2 separate regions of the Homo sapiens genome follow, and region 1 is linked to region 2. The links are contacts of gene promoters, found by promoter capture Hi-C in blood cells and fetal thymus (Javierre and others, 2016). All regions are on one chromosome and are shown on one strand. The core of a region is centred on a gene start or on the middle of the fragment in contact, and the rest is flanking DNA. Distances in the headings are between cores, read along the strand shown.

Evidence for each region. Contacts are between HindIII fragments. The CHiCAGO score rates a contact against its expected background, and 5 or more counts as called.
Region 1: a contact is called between the fragment with the promoter of TMEM35B here and the fragment with the promoter of PSMB2 in region 2, in 3 of 17 cell types (naive CD4 T cells, fetal thymus and M2 macrophages). The highest score is 6.5, in naive CD4 T cells.

What each region holds. Positions count from the first base shown.
Region 1 is chr1:34,981,692-34,987,013 of GRCh38, forward strand. It overlaps TMEM35B (transmembrane protein 35B), which reads right to left and starts at 3,656. Exons shown (of 3, transcript NM_001195156.2): 1 at 3,507-3,656; 2 at 2,076-2,256; 3 at 1-428. The coding sequence starts at 3,614. The coding sequence ends at 253. It overlaps ZMYM6 (zinc finger MYM-type containing 6), which reads right to left. Exons shown (of 16, transcript NM_007167.4): 16 at 4,474-5,322. RefSeq lists silencers at 3,215-3,284, 3,345-3,634. The HindIII fragment of the contact is 1,524 bases long and covers 2,913-4,436 here.
Region 2 is chr1:35,638,662-35,644,454 of GRCh38, forward strand. PSMB2 (proteasome 20S subunit beta 2) reads right to left here and starts at 2,865. Exons shown (of 6, transcript NM_002794.5): 1 at 2,681-2,865. The coding sequence starts at 2,771. RefSeq lists enhancers at 1,840-2,805, 2,594-3,053, 2,806-3,770. The HindIII fragment of the contact is 1,783 bases long and covers 1,891-3,673 here.

The sequences.
Region 1 (5,322 bases), core at 2,406-4,905, 660 kb before region 2:
AATTTTGGTTGATTTAAATTTCTTTTCTGCTTATTTTGTATTTTCATATGACATGAGGAATGTTAATATGCATAACATGTACTCCTCACAAAAGAGTAGTAAAGCTAAAAAGAGAAAGCAGTGCCAGGTAGACAAAATGTCTCTTTCAACACTGGCTGACCCTGGATATTATACTGGTAACAAGATGATAGACTCTGTGTTCTACCATGTTCCTGCTGTGACAGCTGCATGGCATAAAGAGACAGAGATGCTCTACTTCCAGGATTCCTTGAATGTACTTAGAGTCTTCTTCCTAGTGGGTCTGACCACCTTCTTAGTCTGGGCTAAGAGCTGGCCGACATTCAGCAGCAGCAGGAACCCCAGGCAGACAATGGCTGGGATACAGGTGCTTAGTGACTCTTTCAGAGCTGCCAAGGTGAAGATAGCCCCTGGAATGGAAAGTGAGGTCCCTGAGGCTCCTTGGAAGAACCCAGGAGATCCAGGAGCTCAGGGCTCTCTAGTTTAGGCTGACCCACTCCAGCCCAAGCCCTCCCATTAAACACCCCCACCACTCCTAACGCACATTCCCAAAACTAGCGGCATTCATCTCTAGCCTCCTGGAGAAAGCAGGACCAGGAAATTAGAAGCCTCTTGAACAACAGCAGCAGTGGCAACAGTTGCCCCTCTCAGAGGACAAGAAAGAAACGGGAATGACCCAGCCAAATAGGGCAGTGGCTAGAGTGGATAGATTTTAGAAAAAAAAATCTCCCTGATCCTTCTCCTTTCCTTTTTTTTTTTTTTTTTTGAGGCAGAGGCTTGCTCTGTCACCCAGGCTGGAGTGCAATGGCGTGATCTCCTGCCAGCCTTCTGAGTAGCTGGGCTACTGGGTTCTGGGTACTGGCTTCAAGCGATTCTCCTGCCTCAGCCTCCTGAGTAGCTGGGATTACAGGCGCGCACCACCACGCCCGGCTAATGTTTGTATTTTTAGTAGAGACGGGGTTTCATCATGTTGGTCAGGCTGGTCTTGAACTCCTGACCTTGTGATCCGCCCGCCTCGGCCTCCCAAAGTGCTGGGATTACAGGCATGAGCCACCGTGTCTGGCCCCTTCTCCTTTCTTAATCCTACATCTACTAAGATTAAGATGGAGGGAAGGACTAGCCCAGGGGCTGTTGGTTGGAGGTATGGGAAAGATCTGAAAATGGGAGAAGCTCCAGAGATGGAAGCAAGCCTGGTAGCAGTGGCAGCAATGGTAACAGATGCCAGGGCATATAGAAGAGCCTGAAGATATCTGGCCTTTGAAGCAACAGCTGTCTTTGTACATCAGCAGTTCCTGTGGGCAGAGCTACTTGAGGGGGACTCCCTAGGGAAATTCTCTGCCTTCCTGTTCAAGGTTCTCCAGCTTCCCTGCTCTCTACACCAATCTGCCAGACACATGCATCAAATGGCAGCTGCTCCTCCATCCCCTCATCCTAGGAGTGGATGTGTGGAGGAAGGAGCAGAGGCGCTGAGCTTGCAATATATCTTCACAAGGCAATACTATGCAGCCATTAGAATTGAGGAGGTAGAAGGTACACTTAACATGTGATAATGTTCTAGCACATTAAGTTTAAAAAGTACCTGTGCTAGGCCGGGCATAGTGGCTCAAGCCTGTAATCCTAGCACTTTGGGAGGCCAAGGCGGGCAGATCACGAGTTCAGGAGATCGAGACCATCCTGGCTAACATGGTGAAACCCTGTCTCTACTAAAAATACAAAAAAATCAGTCGGGCGCTGTGGCAGGCGCCTGTAGTCCCAGCTACTCGGGAGGCTGAGGCAGGAGAATGGTGTGAACCCAGGAGGCGGAGGTTGCAGTGAGCAGAGATAGTGCCACTGCAGTCCAGCCTGGGCGAAAGAGCGAGACTCCATCTCAAAAAAAAAAAAAAAAAAAAAAAAAAATACCTGTGCTAGTTTGAAGACCATGGAAACTGTGGTAGAGCAGAAAGTGCTCTTGATCCCAGAGAAAAAAGAAGGGTGGCAACAGTAAGGGGGAACAGCCAGGTCTTTCCATAATCCTCCCCCAGAAGACCCCATTTTCTCAGGCCAGTTGGCCCCCTTACCCATCATGAGCAGAATCAAGAACAAGTTACTGATCTCTTGCAGCATCGGTGGGCCCATGACCAGCAGCAACCCAGCCAGCAGTTCCAGAAAGCCCACAGCTATTTGGTAGTTCAGGGGATCTGGCTGGTAGCCAAATACCTTCAGCGGGAACACCTCAGCAAACTGCACGAACAGGGCATTCTAGGGGTGGCAAGGAATGCCTGTTAGCCTCATTGTTCAACAAGGATGAGCTCCCCAGATGCTCCATGGCATATCTATGCCTGTGCCCTCAACTTCCCAGAGAAAAGAACTACTACTCTAGGTCAGGTCCAGGGCTGAGGTCAGCCTGAAGAGGAGAGGGCTGCCCTGTGGCGCTGAGCTTTGGAATCAGGAAACAGGCTCCATGCTCCAAGTGGTACAGAGATTGATCTTCTCACTAGACCTCTCAAGAGATTACAACCCAGCCCCAAATCCCAGGAGGAGGGGGCTGGGCTTGGCTCCCTAGTGCCAAGGCCTGGGGAATTCCACAGTTTCCTTCTTTGTGTCTGGCCTGGTTTCTCTTAAGGCTGCTGTACAGGGAATATTTGGAGGTGAGGCAGAGTTAGGTGGGCTCAAAGTGACTCTTCTTGTCAAGGCAGGCCCTCCCCTGAGCCAAATGACAACTTCATCCTTACTTTCGGGGATACTTTTTCCTGTTCCCACTCCTCAGCTCTACCTCCCCTCCTCAGCTCTGCTGGGAAGCAGCTCTAAGCTGTCTGTCTCTGGGGATTTATCCAGGCCTTGGAGAGAGATGCCAGCAGAGGTCTACAAGTCTGGCTCTTTTGAGGGACTGGGGAGATTGGTGAACAGGATATGAAAGCTTTCCCATGAGTCTGGAACTAGACAGAAGGCTGAAAGACGACTTCAGGGCATCCCTCTCAGGCTTCCGAGAGAGGCTTCCCTCTCTGGGTTCCGAGTTAGGAGTGTCTAGCTTGTGTCCTGCTTCCTGACTAGATGTGCAATCTTTAGCAGATATACTTGCCCTTCAGGGCGGGCTTCCTTCCCTGCAAAGCCAGGATTACTACACCCCAACCCCACGAACCTCCCAAAAACTGAAGCAAACGGCGAAAAGAGGGAAGAGAGCGGGAAGTGAGCTCATTTTCCCACCGCATCATCCTCCCCCAGGGTCCGGGGGGGTGGGAGGGACCTCCTAAGGCTCTAGATTTGCCTGGGGCCACCAATATTCTGCAGGAAGGGGAGGTTCTGTCCCCTTCCGTCTAGGGAAGATCCAGAGAACTCGAGGAACTCCCCAGGCAGGACCTGCGCCTCAGTCGAAAGCCAGGCGCTTTCCCCCAGCTCCAGCTGAGCCTCGGAAGCCCGAAGGCGGCCTGCCGGGCCGGGGGCGAGGAGCGGCAGGGCGGAGCACACGCCGCCGCGGGCCCGATCCCCTGCCGCCCGCCCGCGCCGCTCACCATCCGCTCCGAAACTGGAGCCGAGATCTCCTCCGAGAGCTTGGCCAACCCCACGAGCGCGAAGAAGCCGCCCAGCAGTACACGCAGCACCGAAAGCAGGAGCGCCATGGCCGCGCTCCCCCCACCGTGGGTTGGCCCCGCCGAAAACCCGCCCCTGCCGCCGGCTCATTTCCTCCCTCCCCGGGGCAGCCGGAAGACTCTCGCCTGAGCTACCGTCCCCCACCCTCCAGGGGGTCGCGAGGCTGCAGTACTGGGGCAGGGCGCCCCCATCTTACAGGTGGGGACACTTGAGGACCACTGGCTGGTAACTGACTAAACAGGCACCTTTGGATTCAGGGAGTGTTTCCCAGCCAATACGGAGTGCTGGCAGACACGGGTGGGTGTCTGGGTGCGGTTCAGCTACCATCAAAAGACCCCGGGCTTCGTTCCTGCCTGTGCCACACTAGCTGTGGGATCTGAGCTGTCACCCACCCCAAAGGGCCTCAGTATCTGCATCTGTATATGGGGATAACTCAGTTCTCCAGAGTTTGTAACAGGCCTAGCACAGTGCCTGCACATGTAAGAGCTCAGAAAGTTATTTGTAAATTAGTAAATTAATTTATAAAATTGTAATAAATCAATAACCATTAATTATTAAATAAGTCTCTTTGCCTGAGATATCTTTTCCCTCTAATTTATCTCGGCTGACAATGAAATGTGAAAGGTGTTTGAAAATTCAGATACTTGCATGGATAGAGAGGCTTTCACTGAACCAAGCCCTACAGTCCACTCCTGGCCCATTTGCTCTTACCTGGAAATCTGTCTAAAGCTGGGATGGGCAAACCATGGGCCAAATTTGGCCAGATGTCTGATTTTTTTCCATGCTTCTCCCCTTCCCCCAAGCTAATAATGTTTGTTTACATTTTTTATGATAAAAACATTTTTTAAAGAAGCTTGTGTGACATAGGAAAATTATATGAAATTCATATTTCAGTGTTCATGAATAAGTTTTATTTAAAAACAGCCACACTTATCTGCATATTGTCTATGGCTGCTTTTGCACTGCAACTGCAGAATTGAGTAGTTGTGACAGTATGGCCTGCAAAGCTGAAAATATTTACTATCTGGCTCTTTATTTAAAAAGTTTGCTAAGCCCTGGTATATTGGGCCAGAAAGGCCCCAAGCAGGGGTCTCAAATCCCCCTGCTGCTTCCATTTATAGTTACCCAAGCTGCTTAGATCTATCTTTTTCCAGCTGGGCACGTTGGCTCACACTTGTAATCCCAGCACTTTGGGAGGCCGAGGCAGGTGGATCACTTGAGGTCAGGAGATAGAGACCAGCCTGACCAATATGGTGAAACCCCGTCTCTACTAAAAAAAATACAATAGACGGGCATGGTGGCACATGCCTGTAACCCCAGCTACTTGGAAGGCTGAGGCAGGAGAATTGTTTGAACCTAGGAGGCAGAGGTTCCAGTGAGCCAAGATCACGCCATTGCACTCCAGCCTGGGCAACAAGAGCAAAACTCCATCTCAAAAAAAAGATCTATCTTTTCCACCTACTCACAACCTTGCAGGGGTAAGTAGCTGGTTGGCTAGAAGACTGAAATGTTCCACTTGCTTCTAAAGGCCAAGCTGTTTCAACATCCAGGTTGTGCTGTTACATTATAAACTGGGCTTCTCATTACCTGCAGTCTTTGTCACTAGTCCAAATTTAATGAAATAACTAAATTTTCTACCCTAGATTATAATTATACATAATTATTTATAACAATCATAATTATTAAATTCCTCAACAAAAAGGGAAAAATTATTAAAACATTTAATCACTGAAAACA
Region 2 (5,793 bases), core at 1,615-4,114:
TGTGTGGGCTGGAGTACTCCGAGTAACTTAAAAGCAATTCTACATAGGCCAAGAGAAAAGAGACATGAAATGCGGCATATAAGCAAACCAAAAGTTATACCACTTAATAAGGTGGCAATCCTCAGCAAATGTCTACTCTATAGTATCAAAATGTTTTTACAAAGTGACATACTGGACAATTGATTGGAAGTTGTATTATCATTTTATACTTGGAGAAAGGAGTCCCAGAAGGTTACTATTTTTTCAGCATTCTTGCCTACTCTAAACAAGCTCCATCGTGAAATGAATGATTAGAAAAAAGTCATCAGACGGCTGGGCACGGTGGCTCACGCCTGTAATCCCAGCACTTTGGGAGGCGGAGGCAGGTGGATCACCTGAGGTCAGGAGTTTGAGACCAGCCTGGCCAAACTGGTGAAACCCCGTTTCTACTAAAAATACAAAAATTAGCTGGGCATGGTGACGGGCGCCTGTAATCCCAGCTACTTGGAAGGCCGAGGCAGGAGAATCGCTTGAACCCAGGAGGTGGAGGTTGCAGTGAGCCGAGATCGCGCCATTGCACTCCAGCCTGGGTGACAGAGCGAGACTCTGTCTCAAAAATAAATAAATAAAATAAATAAAAAAGTCATCATACAATACTAAAATTTCTATTATAATTTGTTTTATACCAGAAAAGACTATAGGGAAAATTGGAATGTGCAGAGTGCAACTATTTCCAATTATTTTTCAAGAACTAACTCAAATTCATCTTTCTCCCATACCATAGTTATCTTTCTTTTATTACTCTTAGGATTTGCTCTTGAACTCATTAATTTAAAAACCAACCTACTACTAACTAGTAATACTTCTTTTATTATATAAAATCATCTTGCAGCATTTATTTCCTTGTTTTCTTAATGTCTTGGACTCTTCTATGGGTTATAAGTAATATACTGCATCCCCTATAATGACTAAAAGTACTGTGTACATAAGTAGGCTTAAAGCACATTCTACTTTTCAATGTGATTTCACATACATTTGGGATGAAACAAAAGACCTGTAAAGATAATGATTATTGTTCTACCTAGACATGACTTAATGTTAAAATCACTTGCTTGTCAAAGACCTTAGTATTCAAAATAATGGACAAATTTACTCTCAAAACAAATTCACTCCTTTGGAAGGACTGGCTTACAAACAAAACTTCTACAAACTAATCATAGAATTTCATAAAGTATAAGGTGCTATGTTAAGTGATTTACATTAATTCATTAACCTTTTGAGATAGGTGCTATTACATTACCACCTTATAGATGTTAGCTCTAGGGCACGGAGTTAGAGAAATTTGCTTAAGGTCACAAGTGGCAGAACCTGGGTTCAACCTATGCAGTGAGTCCAGACATTTTGCCCCTAAGTACTATAATATACTATACTATACTATACTATACTATACTATACTATACTATCTATACTAAATTACTCAATACATAATTTTAAGAAGATTTTGGTTGTTTTTCTGCAGAATCTAAGTTTGTTTTCCTTAACTGATCAAAGACGTGCTACTGTTGAAAAAGTATTAAGCTTTGGTTCAGATGACTTAATGGTCATTTGACAAATATGTTTGGGCACCTACGTACACTTAGTATTATTAAGTACCTGCCTAGTGCTAAGGATTTGCACATAACTCATTTACTAAATCCTCCCGACAAGTTTGTGAGTTTGGTATTGCTAATCTTAAAGATGAGGAAATCTGGGCACTGCAAAATAACTTATACAAACTCATAAGGCAAATAAATGACAGGGCTCCAATCTCTTAACTCCATTAACTACTTAAATATAAGGAAAACCTGGCAGCCATTGCTCTGGAAAACTGGAAAAGAAGAATCGGGAGCCACGGGAAGAAGGAAAATGCCAAGCTTCTGGTCCCACAGTCTCACTCTCCCCAGGATCCCACCTTATGCCGCCAACAAACTAACCTCATTACTAGCGACACCAGGAAACTTATCAGAGATTCGGGGATCTAGAGAGCCAGTCCCACAGTCTCACTCTCCTCAGGATCCCACCTTATGCCGCCAACAAACTAACCTCATTACTAGCGACACCAGGAAACTTATCAGAGATTCGGGGATCTAGAGAGCCAGGCTCTGGGCAGGCGCTTAAACATTTATAAACTGATTCCCTTTAGGCAACTCTCACCAAGCAAGAAGCATTTAGCGAAGGCCAGAGCAGAGCACTGACCCAGGAGCCCTGGAGGAGCAAATGCCAAGGTCCCAGACCTGTCTGCCTGTTTCGCCTGTAATCCCAGCACTTTGGAAGGCCGAGACGGGCGGATCTCCTGAGGTCGGGAGTTCGAGACCAGCCTGACCAATATGGAGAAATCCACATCTCTACTAATAATACAAAAATTAGCCAGGCGTGGTGGCGCATATCTGTTCCCAGCTACTCGGGAGGCTGAGGCACGAGAATCGCTTGAACCCGGGAGACAAAGACTGTGCTAAGCCGAGATCGCGCCATTGCACTCCGGCCTGGACAACAAGAGCGAAACCCCTCTCGAAAAAATAAATAAATAAATAAAATAAGTACGGGCAGGGCAGGCCGGCTTCCATCTCTCAGATCCTCCCTGGTACTTATTCAACCCCCGACAAACTCCTTCTGGCCGCTCCTACACCCCAGGCCTGGCCGGGCCTCCCCTGCTTCCTCTCACCGTCCTTCATCTGGACAATATTGCTGGCGGCCACCCGGTCGGAGGCGACAAGAACATAGTCGGGGCCTTGGATACCGATGAGGTACTCCATGGTGGCGGAAGGCCAGGGGCTGCAGGTCCGACACAGCACGAGACTCGCCCGCTTCCAGGTCTCACCGGTGAGACAGCACCTCAGAGCGAAGATTGGCGCGACGCCTGCAGCACGACTTCCACGGCGCTCTCGGATGACGTACAACTGTCGCGAGAGGTTGCAAAGCGGGCGCGGCGCCGGGTGCCTTATGTTCAGTGCTTGTCTCTGGGATCGTACGGGTCTCCTCCGGAGCAGGCTGTGCAGGTCACTTGCCTTATGTGACGCCCAGTTTCTCTGTTTACACACTAAGATTTTAAAAGTGGCTTTAGGATAAAATCACGCAGTGTATGTAAGGTGCCGAGCACGTGTGGGTGTCAAAAAGGGGTAGGTAGCCAGGCAGCCGTTTCCCTACGTTGCTCGGTAAAATCTCCCCAGAAACCCCTTTCCTGCAAGCCAGATTGGAGAAAAATTAACTTGAGGGGAGCCTTACTTCCATCCTTCACAAAAATAGTATATGGTTGGATTAAAGATATAAGCATGGCCGGGCGCAGTGGCTCACGCCTGTAATCCCAGCACTTTGGGAGGCCAAGGCAGGCGGATCACCTGAGCTTGGGAGTTCGAGACCAGCCTGACCAATATGGAGAAACCCCGTCTCTACTAAAAATACAAAATTAGCTGGGCGTGGTGGCGCATGCCTGTAATCCCAGCTACTCTGGAGGCTGAGACAGAGAATCGCTTGATCCCTGGAGGCGGAGGTTGCGGTGAGCACTCCAGCCTGGGCAACAAAAGCGAAACTCCGTCTCAAAAAAAAAAAAAAAAAAAAAAAAAAAAAAAAAAAAAAAAAAAAGAGAGGGAGAGAGATACAAACATGGAAGAAAAAGTAGAAAAATATTTCTGTAATTTTTGGAAGAGATGTGTTTCTAAGCTTGACAGGGAACCCAGAAGCAATATGAGAAAAGACTTGACAGATTTGACTACCTAAAATTACACGTCTCTATGTGGTGAAAGTCATTATCATGCTCAACAGTAAATGTAAATTGGGAATGTTTCAATTGTAGAAATAGTTACTATTTTGGACCTTATAGACAGAAGAAAGGAAAAAGTTAATATCTATAACTTAAAAGATATTCCTACAAACCAATGGGAGGGGAGCCGGGTGAGACAATACCATTTTTAAAAGACCCGGCAGGGCACGGGGGCGGATCAAGAGGTCGGGAGTTCGAGAACAGCCTGGCCAATATGGTGAAACCCCGTCCCTACTAAAAATACAAAAAATTAGTTGGGCGTGGTGGCAGGCGCCTGTACTACTCCGGAGGCTGAAGCAGGAGAATTGCTTGAACCTAGGAGGCGGAGATTGCAGTGAGCCGAGATAGCGCCCCTCCACTCCAGCCTGTGCAACAGAGAGACTCCATCTCAAAAAAAAAAATAAAAAATAAAAAAAGACCAAAGACTAAGAAAAACAATTCACAAAAGAAGCAACACGAATGGCCAATAAACATGAAAAGATCCTCAACCTTGATGGTAATTAGGAAAATGGGAAATAAGAAACAATGAGAAAGTATAAATTGGGGGTAAGGTTCTAAGTTGTACAACCTTTTTATAGAGAACAATTTTAATATCTGTTAAATATGCATAACCTTTTGAATATGTCCAAAAGAAATGTTTGGACACACAGTCCAAATATTTGTGTACCGAGATACTCAGTGTTGCCAGGGGCAGTGGCTCACGCCAGTAATCCTAGCACTTTGGGAGGCCAAGACGAGCGGATCACGAGTTCAGGAGTTCGAGACCAGCCTGGCCAACATGATGAAACCCCGTCTCTACTAAAAATACCAAAATTAGCTGGGCGTGGTGGTGCGGCACCTGTAATCCCAGCTACTGGGGAGGCCAAGGCAAGAGAATCGCTTGAACCCGGGAGGCAGAGGTTGCAGTGAGCCAAGATCACACCATTACACTCCAGCCTGGGCAACAGAGCAAGACTCTCTCTCAAAAAAAAAAAAAAAAGAGAGAGAGATATTTAGTGTTGCAGCACTACAACACAAAAGAGGACCAACTTACGTGTCTAAAAGTGGAGACATTGTTGGGCCGGGTGTGGTGGCTCATGCCTGTAATCCCATCACTTTGGAAGGCCAAGGTAGGTGGATCACGTGAGGTGAGGAGTTCGAGACCAGCCTGACCAACATGGTGAAACCCGGTCTCTACTAAATACAAAAAATTAGCCGGGCGAGGTGGCAGGCGCCTGTAATCCCAGCCACTTCAAGAGGTTGAGGCAGGAGAATCGCTTGAACCTGGGAGACAGAGGTTACAGTGAGCTGAGATCGTGCCACTGCACTCCAGCCTGGGCAACAAGGGCAAAACTCTGTCTCAAAAAAAAAAAAAATGTAGTACAGTCATAGTGGAATATTGTGCACCCATAAAAAGAATGAGATGAATCTAAATATACCTATATATTCCATGGCCCAAGATACATTAAGTGAAAGTAAAAATGCTTTTTTATATGTAGCCTGATGCCATTTTGTTTAACTATGAATATTTGAATATGAATGGAATACCTGTAAATACCTGTTTACAGGTATTCTAGTGTCAAATTATTTGCATTTATTACCCTGGTGAGTGTAATTTGAAGGGAGAACTTTCACTTTTTATTTTATACACATGGGTATTGTTTGAATGTTTTACAGTGCTCATGTACTATTTGTATTTTTTCTAATAGAAAAAAAAACAGCCATCCCTTTATATCTTGAAGCAATTCTGAAAAAAAGGTGAAATATTTCTTGATTGGGTTTCTGACATCCACAACTGAGTCTTCATACTAGCTTATTGAGAAATGGGAAACGAGTTGCAGTTGTATCTCCAAACACAACTATGCAATTCGTTTGTCTCTGCAGAAATTGTAATACTTTATTCTGAATGTTTCTTCCAGCTCCCTGCACATAAAGGAACACAGAGCCTGAGGAGTTTGAGGCAGCCTATCAATCATGGGATGGATGCCAGGGGCAAGTGAGGTCATTAAGTCAACCATCCACTATGAACACAGCTGCAT